Regions from separate parts of the Homo sapiens genome. Here region 1 is linked to region 2. Evidence: promoter capture Hi-C in 16 types of primary human blood cells and fetal thymus (Javierre and others, 2016). All regions are on one chromosome and are shown on one strand. Each heading gives the region's core, a stretch centred on a gene start or on the middle of the fragment in contact. The rest is flanking DNA. Distances are from core to core; before and after follow the strand shown.

Evidence for each region. The method cuts DNA at HindIII sites, captures the fragments that hold promoters and counts their contacts. A CHiCAGO score of 5 or more calls a contact.
Region 1: a fragment that was not itself captured here is called in contact with the fragment with the promoter of VIM in region 2 in 3 of 17 cell types (M0 macrophages, total CD8 T cells and naive CD8 T cells); the score reaches 7.1 in M0 macrophages.

Annotation. Positions count from the first base shown.
Region 1 is chr10:15,835,391-15,841,788 of GRCh38, reverse strand. MINDY3 (MINDY lysine 48 deubiquitinase 3) reads left to right here. Exons shown (of 15, transcript NM_024948.4): 4 at 190-363; 5 at 3,510-3,561; 6 at 4,471-4,585. The region is part of intron 2 of LOC124902383 (a long non-coding RNA gene); the gene reads right to left. Among named protein-coding and RNA genes, the nearest start is that of MINDY3, 22 kb to the left of the region's middle. The HindIII fragment of the contact is 1,691 bases long and covers 488-2,178 here.
Region 2 is chr10:17,222,587-17,229,490 of GRCh38, reverse strand. VIM (vimentin) reads right to left here and starts at 1,250. Exons shown (of 10, transcript NM_003380.5): 1 at 967-1,250; 2 at 1-215. The coding sequence starts at 68. It overlaps VIM-AS1 (VIM antisense RNA 1), which reads left to right. Exons shown (of 3, transcript NR_108061.1): 1 at 1-146. RefSeq lists a silencer at 2,557-2,771. The HindIII fragment of the contact is 5,594 bases long and covers 1-3,589 here.

The sequences.
Region 1 (6,398 bases), core at 84-2,583, 1.4 Mb after region 2:
AGTGGTGATATTTTAATCCACAAACACATTGTTTTTCTAAGACATAATTTAAAATCTATTTAGAGATTTTTCCCCCATTTTTAAAATGCTTGATTTTCATCATTAACCCATTCTTACTATTGTTATTCATGACAGAATTTTTTTTTTTCCAGAGGAAACCATTATAACTTATGCTTTGGTTATTTTTAGAGGAAGAGCAGAAGGAACTCCTTTGTCATACCTTGTGTGATATTTTAGAAAGTGCTTGTTGTGACCACTCTGGATCATACTGCTTGGTTTCATGGTTAAGAGGAAAGACAACTGAGGAAACTGCTAGTATTTCTGGGAGTCCTGCAGAGTCTAGTTGCCAAGTGGAACATTCTTGTAAGATATATTTTTATTTCCTGAAGTTTTTTTCTTGTTCCTTTGTTTTAATGAATCTATTGAATATTTTGAAGAAAAAATTACTTAAAATTTTCATAACATGTATTCTTTTCCAGCTTAAGCTTAATTACTGAGCCTCACTATTTTTTATTTCCATATCATTTATTTTAACTACTTAGAAGATACTACATTTTTGCAAAAAAAAATGCATCTCTTAAACTTTTAAAAATGTTCTGGTTAACTTCTGCTTGATAATAATCTCTTTTGAGCTTTAGAACTCTTATTTAGAAATAATGATATGCTTCAGTTTCAGATGCCTTAATGTTTTGCTTTGGTATTGCAAAAACGGATTTTTTTGGACATCAGAAGATTTCATAAAGTTATCTTTACTTGCTTCCCAGAGCAAAGATGGGGACATTTCTCCTCATTGCAAGCTGTTTCTTTTCTTTCCGAATTATTTGGATATTTTTATACATATAGATTATTTTAAGGCAATTTTAATTATGCCTTAAGTTTTTCATACCTTGAAGATAAGTTAAATAATAGCTGTTTACGTTAAATAATAGCTATTCTCATTATTCATAAAAATTATATATTCTGTGGTTTTTAACTTTTGAAAATTGTTATGTAATTGACCCGAAAGCTGCCAGTGTGAAATGGAGACAGCTAGTGGTACGGAAGCTAGTTAAGAGTTGCTTTTCTGATTTGCTTTTCAGGAATAATCTTGCTAGTTGATGGTTTTTTATAATTGGTAGTCCCAAGTGCTTATGTTAAATAAGTGACTTATTCTACCCACAGAGCATCACATTAACTATCATCTTTGTGGAAAGTTTTCGTAAAGAGATTACGTACCTGAAAGTACACTTCAATTGTATGGGATACACATTTTGCTTTCCATATAGTATTATCTATAAGGTGCTGTTGCCTCCCTGGACTAAAATGCCTCTGTGTTGTCAGTGTCTTTTTTCTCCTACCTCTGCAGTTAAAATGCCTTAAGCCTGGCAAATTCTAATAGTAGTAACATTTGCAAGGAATAATTTTGAACATTTGAACAGCTATATGATGCTTCCTTTTGAAGCCTTTGAAATATGGCCTTTCAAAAAGAACTTAACATATTTTAGAGTTTATAATGACATTTGAAGACAACAAGTGGAAAACAGTCACAAGGATGCTAGTCCAAAGTGTCACTAAGATTGGTTTTAACATATTCTCCAGGTTTTACTGTGTGGGTGTTAGCACACTTAATAGGTTCATTTAGGATATTAAAATTTTGAAAGAGGAATTGTTGATCTTTTGAAAAGGTATTTTAAAGATTTTGTGCTTAAAGCCAGTCTGTATATTGATGTGAGAAAATAGTAAGATCTTTTTATATAACATTTTCCATTAGTATCTTAACAGTATACTGAGTGCATACTATGAAATATGCTATGCAGTTCTGTGGTGATACGTCACGTTGCTATAGGTTAAAGGGCCTTATAATGCATTCCCTTTGGTACTTCAGTAACTAATTTAGATGGGCATATTATATTGAATTACCCTCCAGAAAACATTTTAGTAATTTTTCCAGTTTACTTTGTATCTCATTTTAAAAGTTGCCATGAAGTAAACCATATTTTAAATTTTTTAAATAATGTATACATTTGAAATACTTTGTTAACTGAAAATTTGAGAATTTACCTTAGTGACAAATGAACTGTATTTATATTACAATTTTTATTCCGTGTAACAATCTATTTTACCTGTTCTTTCCTTTATTCCCAGCTTTGTTCTTTTTCTTGTGTTTTATATTTTTTCACCATCCCTGCCTGCTAAGCTTTTTATTTTGCTTGCCTCTTTTCTCTAAATTATTATCTTTATGTCTACTCTTGTAGTATACCCAGTAAAACTATTTAGATAATCTAATGTTGCAGAACAAGCAGTATAATTTGGAAAAGATTAGGTAGAATTTTCATTTTCTGAAAGTTTTAATGTAAAGTGTTTTCCCCTCTTGTTAATATTACTTTCTCTACAAACATTAATTTCATTGGCTTATGTGGTGTGTATAGTTTTGGCTTGTTGGTAATGCACAGTTGTTCGCAGTAGTGAATACTCAGGTTCAATTTCAGTTTGTTTCCCACATAAACCAAGAAATAACTTAATACATTTGGACTGCTAAAGATTTTAAAACGAAATATGAAACACTCACAACTAGGCTTTGGAAAGCTAGCATAATGTGACATTTTAAATTGTAAATAAAAATCTAAAATTTTGACTTCATAATGAATCAATTTTCTTAACTCACCAGTGAGAATTTATATTTGATAGTAGTAAGATTTGCTTTATGAAATATATGTGAAGTTATTCATTGTGATAAATAACTCCCTGGAGCCAAGACTATCTGTGCTCAAGTCTCATCTCTGCTGTTTAATCCTATGTACTCTTGAGAGGATTTTTCTGTGTGCCTCAGGTTCCTCTTCTGTAAAATGGAGCTAAGAGGGTTTATATGAGGATTAAATGAGGTAAGACATGTAGGGCATTTAGAAAAGGGCCTGGCACTTAGTAAAGTGCTCAATAAACATTACCTCTGATTAAAATGCTTTCTTCTATTTCCTTTGATTAATAAACATAATCTAAATAAGTTACTGAAAACTTTTTAACAGTTATACAAATAAATGAGGAAACAAACTTAAAGCTGTCATTGAACCTGTGTAGTTTGAAAGTGTTATGCCTTTTTATACATGTTTGTTTAATAATTAAGCCTTAAACCTAAAGATTTTATATTATAAAAAGGAAGGTTAGCTCTGATGATATTACTTGGATTTATATAATCTGAAAGATTATTTAAAAGTGCAGGACACATTATGATATGTGAGGCACTGATTATCAGTAATTTTTCATACTTTATAACTGCCGTAGCATAGCTGAACTGAAATGTTATTTAATCACCCTTCTATATTCTCAGTATTATATCGATTTTAGTTATATTCATAATAAAGATGTTGAAATATAAATTCATGTTATAATGAAGTTGAAAATAAACTGAGAATTTTAAGGGAGTAAGGAAATAGGGAAAGTTTTGATTGCTTGAAAGTATTTACAGCCTGCTGTGTGTATCTTGTGTCATTTATTTGCCATGTGTAGTGCTGAAAAGTGTCTTTTATGTATAGCTGCCTTGGCTGTCGAAGAGCTTGGCTTTGAGCGATTTCATGCATTAATTCAGTAAGTAACATTGGAACATTTAAAATACTTACTCTGTGGACACATTGCCACTTTAAGTCTGTTCATACTGTGGAAAGGTTCTTAGTTTTACATAGAAATGCGCTACTTAAACATAAATTTTAAATCCATTGCTTCAGGATTAATTTGCCTTTAAATTAAAATAGTTTGTAAATGTATAAACTATGCTGAGTCCTTAATTAACTACCCAGATACGCTTTTCAAAAACATTAAAAAGCTTTTTCATCATTACAATGAAAAAAAATCATTTTAGCTTAATGTTTCTGTGACCTAAACAAATATGAAGATTTCTAGTAGGATAAATATTAGAATTATTTATTTGCCAGTATCTGTTTTCTATACCTTTTATTAAGAATACCGATATTTTTGTTAGAGCATTTAAACTTTTTATTACAAAGTAAAAGGTAAAGATGGCTGTTGATAGAATTATGGGTGGCATTTGGTTTAAAATGTAACATTAATTTCTTTTAAAAGAAGCCGCAAATGTGTAAGTTATCTTTGGCATTAAGATATTTGTTAAGTAATTTCTAGGATTTAAAAAGTGAAGTTTTCTTTGTGTTTACCCCCTCTTACAAGAAGGCCACTCTATTCTTTAAATAACTGTATATTATTGAAGAATTTACTGATGCCAGACAGTTCACCTAAGAGATGAAGAGGTTCCCTGCCAAGTAGGTGTTCTTTCTTAATGATAAATATCATATATAGTGATAGTTGTCAGAAATAGCTTTTGGTTTTAGTGGCTAAATTTGTAATGAAAAATTTAGAAACGTCCCAAAACTTTCCTGTTTGTATGTATATGTTTTAATGTATAAGAAAATTTAAAAATTTTCCCTTTTATGAATGTAGTTAATCTCATCATGATACCAATACTTAATTCTTTTTTTCCCCCAGAAAAAGATCGTTCAGAAGTTTACCAGAATTAAAAGATGCTGTCTTGGACCAGTATTCAATGTGGGGAAATAAATTTGGAGTATTGCTTTTTCTGTATTCTGTATTACTGACAAAGGTGTGTTCAAGAAGATGATTTTTCTGCCTTTGATTAATGTTGTTCAGTGCTGTTTTTCCTGCAGTGATGAGTAATTTTATTCCTGATGGTGTTTTTAAATTCTTAGAATAAAAATCTTTTACGTTGAAAATGAGTTAATTTCTGTTTCCTCAGCACTCACTCGTTGCTTAAGCAGTTTCACCTCTGCTCTTTTGGACTACAGAGATTATCAATAATGTTCTGGTTGTGAAATGCTGTCCTTTCTTCCAAATTGTGTTTCCTTTGATCCTTCCGTGTAGCACTTGACCCCTTAACCCCTTCTGGAAGCTGTTTTTGACCTTGATTCCATTTCTTGATTTTTTTTTTGAAAAATCACTGTGTGAGTTTTCTTTCTATAATGTCTCACGATTCTTATTTTGTTTTGTTTTCTTTGATAGCTTTGTTTCCTTCTTTATCTGTTACCTCCTGCTCTTTTCTCTCCTCCTCTAAATTTTTATAGTCCAGAAATTTTCTTCCCTGGATCCAGTATGCCTTTTATGGATATTTCATTTGCTCAGGTTACCTTTATATAGCTATTTAATAGTTCCAATATGTCCCCTTCTAGTCCTACTCTTTTTCCCCAAATACCAGTCTCATAGCTCTAGTAACGTGTTAGTCTCAGTTGACTATGCTATTAGATCTATCATGTCTGAAATCAAACTTCTTTTATTTGACAAATGTTTTTTGAGCGTTGATTGACTCTATGCTAGGGACTATGTCTGTATTAATAATATGGGATGCATTTTTAATGGTATCTATTTAGCATTGTAAAAAAATGGCACATTAATAATTCCATTATGGCAGTGTGTTTTGGCGTTTGGTCTTCTGTCTGAACCTATTAGATGGAATCAAGGGCATACTGTTTCTAGTAGGGACCATCTGACAGAGATAGGACCTTGATGCATGAGGGCAAGTTTTCTATATGGGAAAGCTGGAGGACATTTTTTCCAGCAGTGGGCACTGCAAGTATAAAAGTGTAAGGGATTGAGGGTATAATGCAGGTTTGGGGAGCTCTAAGTAGTTGAGCCTTACTGTAGCATAAGACACCAGAGAGGCAACTGTGGAAGATGAGACTGGGCACATATGTAAGAAAAGACTTAGAATATGAAGACCTTTCTATGTACACTGTACAAAGAGTAGGTTTCATCTGCTCAGAATTGGAACACAGTAAAAAGTTTGAACAAGGGAGTGACAAGATCTTTTTGTTGATAAAAGATATCTTAAATTGGGATAGGAGTTGTGATGGATGGAGTTGGTGTTTGTAATATAAGACTAGAGTCAGGAAAACTAGAAAATTGGGTATTGAAATAAGAGCAGCCTAAACTAGGACAGGTCATGGAATGGAAAACAAAAGGAGTATATTTAGAAATGTAAATAAATACCTATTTGGAATATTAAATGTAAATAAATAAGAGAACCCAAAGTGCTTAGTTGTGTAGATGTTCGGAGTAGCTGTGATGGTGGTATCTAAGATGACTGGTTTCTTATAAGCTCTTCTTGACTGTTCAGTATTCTCCAACTTTCTTATGCTCAAAACGTTTGATACCTCCTCTGTTTCTTCTTCTTTACAGCCAATAAATTATCATGCAAGTTGTCCTTCCTTGACCTGGTCTTTAAAATGGTATCCCCTTCCTCAGTAGTGATTGTGTCACTTGTTGATAGTATTCATCTTGACATTATCATAGCCTGATTTGTATTGTTTAGGAGGATGGCATATGCAAGAGCTCATGCTTCTTTGTTTCCCCCTGCGGGATTTAGTCATTCTTTAAAAATCTTGGTTGTTAATTAATCATCT
Region 2 (6,904 bases), core at 1-2,500:
CGGCTCGCGGTGCCCGGGCCGCCGAACATCCTGCGGTAGGAGGACGAGGACACGGACCTGGTGGACATGGCTGCGGAGGGTGGCGATGGCCTGGGCGGCGGCGGTGGCGCGGACTGGCTCCCGGAGAAGAGGCGAACGAGGGCGCGGTGGGTGTGGGTGGTGGGAGCGCGGCTGCGTCTCTGGCGCGGGGACCTCGGAGCGAGAGTGGCAGAGGACTGGACCCCGCCGAGGGCGCTGTTTTTATAACCCCGTTAGGAAAGAGGGTCCCCTCCCACTGCCATCCCAGCCGCGGAGCGCGCCAGCCAATAGGGACCTAGCGAGAAGCGGGGAGGGTGGGCGGGTGGGGTGGGGGCGCCCTCGAGCCTTCCTGCTCCGGGGCCTGGGACTGGGCATGGTCCCGTTACTTCAGCGCTGGGCTGGGACTTTTGGGGGCTTTCCGGATGATAGTCTGAGCTGGGCTCACCCTGGGGTGCTGAAAAAGGCGGGGTCGCGCGGTGAGGGGGGGGTCCGCCTGGGACTGAACCAGAGGGGTCCGGTGGCACCACGCCAAAGGGGCGTGGGAGGAGGTGCGCGGCGGTCTCGGGGCTGCGGTCAGGCGGGGAGACCCGCGGGCAAAGGAGCGGGAAGAGGAAAGAGTAAGGAATCCCTCAGATCTGAAGTCGCGGAGAAAGAAACAAAGAGCGCCTGAGATTGGAACGCGGGGTGGGGGCGCGCACAGCGCAGGAACGCAGGGCTCAGGCCTCGCCGCAGCCTCGCGCGCCGCCCGCTTGGAAAGGGGGGCTGCTCCGGCCCGCGCCTCTGTCCATCGACTTGCCTTGGCGGAGAGATGTTGGGGGGAGGGGAGGTTCTGTCGAGGGACCTAACGGGCTCAGTCCAGCTTCGGACGGCGGGAGTTGCGAGACGGCGGTGGCAGAGGAAAGCCCGAGGGAGAGGGGTGGGGTCGCTTAGTCACCGGCGGTGACTCACCGCGCCCTGCTGTCCCGCCGATTGAGGGCTCCTAGCGGTTTAGGGGAAACCGTTAGACCAGATTGATTCAAGTCTCAGCGGGCTCCGCGCGCGCTGCTAGTTCTCAGTGCTACCAACTTACAGCTGGGCCATCGCCTTGCTGTGTGCGGTCGGGCCCTGTGGGGGACAAGAGCGCCCCTAAGTTTTTAATAACTCGCTAAAGCCTGTCTTTGCTCGAATGTGCGGACTTTTTGTTAGCAAGAAACTTCTGCAGCCTTTGGAGAGGCGCCATACGTGGGCCTCCCAGATCACGATTGCACCGGGAAGGTTTTTCTTGCAGAGTCCCCGCCCCCGTCCCTCTGGTCTCCTCTCGCTCTTCCCCCTCCCCCCATGAAACCACACCCAACTTTTTAAACAAGATCTGAAAATTCTGGGTGAAAGAGGAAACTCGACGTCCGTAGTTTCAAAATAGAACTCAGTGATCAGTGGTTTTTACCCTGGTGGAAGTCATTAAAGGTATAATATGAGCCAGTTAAAGAATTAATTAGGTGTTGCTTAAAAACCCCAATTTGATTAATGAGTTCAAATGAAAGGCAATTATGTAACACAAATGACAGAATCTTTGGCGGCAATAGATTTATGTGTTAATTTTAGGACAGCAATGCACAGTACAGGGTTCACGGTGATTTGTCTGGGAAATGCCATAGGTCCTGTTTTCCAAAAGAATTCGTGCAATTGACCTTGGGGTGAGGGGGATAAAACTGTCTACGCAGCAAAAAACTTCGTGTCCAAGACATGGAGGGAGTGTTCAGATTCGGTCACCTTAACCTTTCTAGGGAAATCACTCAATTCAAGGGCTGTTGTTTCAATATTAGTAACGAGCAGAGCTGAGTACTTACCCGCCAAGGGAGATAAAAGGAGACTATGTAAATCAGTCTTCTCGTGATTTAGTAGCAATTGAAAAGGCACAGGTTTTTTTGAGTATTTAGATTTATGGTGTACTGAAAGGATTAACTGCAGAACCACTGTAAAATTGATTCTGCAGTGGATAGGAGAAAAAAAAGTATTTCTCTCTTTTTTTTTGGTGGCGGCAGGGGGTACTGCAGGTTACTTGGTATTTAAGAAACATAATTTAGAGGTAAATGAAGAGCGTATTCTGACTTCTTTGGACAAGCCTCTTTTAGGCAATATTTTGTTTACCTTATCCCAGTTCGTTCTTGCAAATGGTGCTTGCCAAGGTGGAATTACAGGACTCTCTACTGCCCAGCTCGCCTGCTGGGGCTTTCTTTTATTCTCTCTTTCACTGGGAGGCTGCAGGTCATTCCCCAAGAGCATTCCTGGGGCTGGGTGCCCTGGAGGACAAGCCTATGCTCTGAGTTACATCTTGCTTTCTGAGAGCCCTTTATTCAAGCCACTGCTCAGCAAATGCCACCATTGTGAGTGTGCCTGGAACCCTTAGAATGAGAAAAGTGATCTCCCTATGGGAGGAAGAGAGTGTGGAACTCACTTCTACGTGCAGTGCCGATCCCAGGGCAATGCGACGCTTGCTGACTGACTCACTATGGAAAAGGAGGACAAGGCATTGGCGAGGTGTGGCACTGTGCCCTGCTGGTGCCCATAGCCGATTCCTCAGGGCTGCGGTGATGTCTCCTGGAATGGGCACTGGTCCTCTTCATCATCTCAGGGATAGGTAGCTCCTCCTTCCAACCTGTCCCCATTCTGAAGTCTCTGGGCTGTGATAGGCTGCTCTCTTGTCACAGACATATGTTTGTTTGATGCATATAGAATGTATAAAAGTGTAGGTGTTCTGTAGTCCCAGCACTTTGGGAGGCCAAAGCAGGAGGATTGCTTGAGATCAGGAGTTTGAGACCAGCTTAGGCAACATATATATATGAAACCAAAAAAAGCCAGGCGTGATGGTGCACACCTGTGGTCCCAGCTACTTGGGAGACTAAGGCAGGGGGATTGCTTGAGCCTGGGAAATTGAGGCTGCAGTAGGCTGTGCACACCACTGCACTCCACCCTGTGCAACAGAGTGAGAACCTGTCTCAAAATAAAGTATATGTATGTACTACACACACATATACATACGCACATATACAGCGTTCAATGTGTTTTTCCTATTAGAAAATGCCATTGTTTTTGGTGGGCTGCAAGAGAAGTGAAAGTTGCAGAAACACTTTCATTCATTCATGTAGAATTCATGAGACTTAAGAATTCATTTCATTCTGAGATAAGATATACAGTGCCTCAATCAATGGGTGATAGTTTTCAGTCAGGGAGATCAATGAATCTGAACTCACATCCTTGAGTGAGACAACTCAGCCTGCTCTCTATGCTACTGTGTTCTTAGGTATCTTTTGGGTACACAGACATAGCTTTCCCGGGTTTTGTGTTTATTTTTTAATTGCTATGAAAACCTATCTGAGAAGTATTTTCAAGTGCTGGACTGGGAAGCTGCTTTCAACACAGCATGATGCAAGTTGCATATAAATAAAGACGTGGTGGTATAATTCATAGGCCAGGCATAAACACTACCACATCTAAATTACCAACAGTGATTTTGGAATTTGCAAGCTGTCATGATGTCAGTTGAATTGGGTGACTTAAACTGACGGACCAGCCAGCCGTGTGGACAGAAGCTTAGTGGCCTATGGAGGCTTTGGGAAAGCTGGCTAGCCATGCCAAGAGAACAGCATCTAGCAGGACTGTTTGGATGGAATGTTAGAAAGAAGAAGGAGGGTACACTGAGAGCATGAAAACCATAGCAAAACCTAAAATCCATGGAAATACAGGTAATAATAATAAATAGTATAATAGGTAATGTCGATGCCAACTGAATGACAGACACTGTGTATATATTTAATTTAACTTGATGCACTCACACCCTCCTGCAAGATAGACTTGATCATCCATTTCACTAATGAGGAGCCTAAGATGCAGGCTAGCAATTTTCTTGTGGTTGTATGACTAGCAGGGGTGGGAAGAAGGGGACAAGAATTTGAATCGAGGCCTTTCTGACTCTAAATGCACTTCTCTTTTCTGTTTGCCTTGATAACAAAATTTTGCTTACTATCAACCAGTTCAATTCACAAATATTAAGTGCTGGACTTATCATTTAGGGACCTACTGTGTTCCAGGAACTGAAGAGATGGGATGATTAACACAGATCTTGCTGCGAAGGGGCATATTTTTAGAGGAATTTGGCAGACAGCTATAACACCATGTTTACGATGTAAAATGATGTAAAAAACAAAATCAAATGACGTAACAGTGATCATACTATGTAAGAAGGGAGATTTGTTTTCACCTGCATTCTAAAACATTACTTTCATTAGTGAGTTAAAAATTTTCATTTAGATTCCATTTTGCCTCTTAGGAGGAATCACATTCAAGACTGGGTTTAGCTCGTCTCACGCCCTAAAGCCCATGAACCACCATCGCTTCCCCTGCCAGCTTCCCTGTCTATTCAGGGCAATACAGCAAAACAACAAGATTGGAAACTTTCATCATTGCCACTTCCTAACTAACTCTTCCATCTCAGATCCAATGGGTATCATGCCCCGCTCTTCCTGGATCCACTCCTCTGTTACGTTGCTGTCACTCAGATCCAAGCCATTTCATACCTCCTTCCTGCAATACTGCAATTGGCTTCCGTTCCTCCATGCTTTCTTGCTTTCTTTCTTTTCTTTTTTTTTTTTTTTTTGAGACGGGGTCTCGCTCTGTCCCCCGGGGCTGCAGTGCAGTGGCGCGATCTCGGCTCACTGCAAGCTCCGCTTCCCAGGTTCACGCCATTCTCCTGCCTCAGCCTTCCCAGTAGCTGGGACCAAAGGCGCCCGCCACCAAGCCCGGCTAAGTTTTTGTATTTTTTTAGTAGAGACGGGGTTTCACCGTGTTAGCCAGGATGGTCTCAATCTCCTGACCTCGTGATCCACCCGCCTTGGCCTCCCGAAGTGCTGGGATTACAGGTGTGAGCCGCTGCGCCCGGCCCCTCCATGCTTTCTTTTCTGCCACCAATGCATCTATCTTCAAGCCATCACCCCTTTTTCTTTAAAACTTATATATATATATATAGAGAGAGAGAGAGAGAGAGAGAGAGACAAAGGCTTGCTCTGTTGCCTAGGCTGGAGTGCGGTGGCGCAGTCATAGCTCACTGCAGCCTCTTAACTCTTGAGCTCAAGTATTCCTACTGCCTCAGCCTCCCTAGAAGCTGGGAGTGCCATCCATGCCCAGCTAACTTTTTATTTTTTGTAGAGCCAGGGTCTTGCTATGTTGCCCAAGCTGGTCTTGAACTCCTGGGCTCAAGCAATCCTCCAGCACTGGCCTCCCAAAATGTTGGGATTAAATGTGTGAGCCTCCACATTTGGCCAAAAACTTCCTTCTTTAAACTTCTTGGCAGGAATTGCTCATTTCCTCACTGGAATGTAATCTCCCTAAGGGCAGGTAGGAATTTTTCTCTCTTTTGTTGACTATTGTATTTCCAGTGGCTAGAGAAAAGCCAGGCACATCTGTCGAATATATACATTAATACATGAGTAGTTCATAGAAGGAAGAAATATAGGTGTGGGGCTAATATTTACTGGTGCTTATTATGTTTAAGCATTGTGCTAGTCACTTTAGACATGACTGCATTTAATCTTCACAAGGTATCGTGATACACAACTTTTATTCTTTTACTCCAAACATACTTATTGAGTATTTGCCATGTGCCGGGCAGTCTGGTAGACACTGGGGAAGGGACCAAAGCAGGTATGGCCCAAAGCCTCTTGGAACATAGTGTTGAGTCTGCGTATATGTATATGATACAGAGAGACAATACTCGTAAAGGAACAAACAAAATGATTGCAACTGGTGATAAAGACTATGAGGGAAACAGAAATTTTCCTGCAGAGGAGGTTGAGGATCATAGTTAACTAGTGGCCTTTGGAAGTTATGTCAAGTATATATATCTATCCTCATTTTCCACTGTTCCCCACAAGCAGCAATTTCAGTAGAACCCTAAGCTCCTTCTTCTTCCATGAATATAGTACATTTCCCCCACCCTCAGGTCTTTCCTCATATTCCATTTAACAGATAGATGTATTCATATTTTTTTGCACTGCCTGCAATGTTTCTTAGTATATTTCAGTAAGTAAGGTGCTTTTTGTGCCTCTAGGGATCTCATAGCTTTGTATAAGGATTAGAAAGCAGGTAAAGAGTTGGAATACATAGCAGAATGTGGTAAGTGAGTGCTGTAGCACAGATAGGATAAAATGCTAAAGAGCATAGGTGGAGAAATAATCATTGCAGCGCTATTCACAATAACAAAGACATGGAATCAACTCAGGTGCCCATTAACAGTGGATTGGATAAAGAAAACATGGTACATATACACTGTAGAATATTACATAAGCATTAAAAAGAATGAAATCATGTCCTTTGTAGCAACACGGATACAAGTAGAAACCATAAACCTAAGCAAATTAATGCAGAAACAGAAAACGAAATACTGCATGTTCTCACTTCTAAGTGGGAGCTAAACATTGAGTATACACAGACACAAAGATGGAAACAGTAAACACTAGGGATTCCCAAAGTGGGAAGGGAGGGAGGAGGCAAGGATTGAAAGACCACCTATCGAGTACTATGGTCACTATTTGGGCAACGATATCATTAGAAGCCCAAACCTCAGTATCACACAACATACCTATGTAACAAACTTGCACATGTACCCCCTAAATCTAAATTAAAAAAAAAAACTATAATACTATACCTAAAAATAAGTTAAATTTTGTTGAGAAAAAAAATGATCCTATCTACTTGGGGGAGAACAGAAAATGTCATTAGAAAAGATAGTATTTGAAGAATAAGTACAATTTCTACAGCTTATCATGGCAAAGAAAGGTTGCTCTAGTGCTGACCAAACAGTATAAGCAAAAACTGGGTGGGTGGCAGAGTGCTGAGGACATTTAGGGAACAG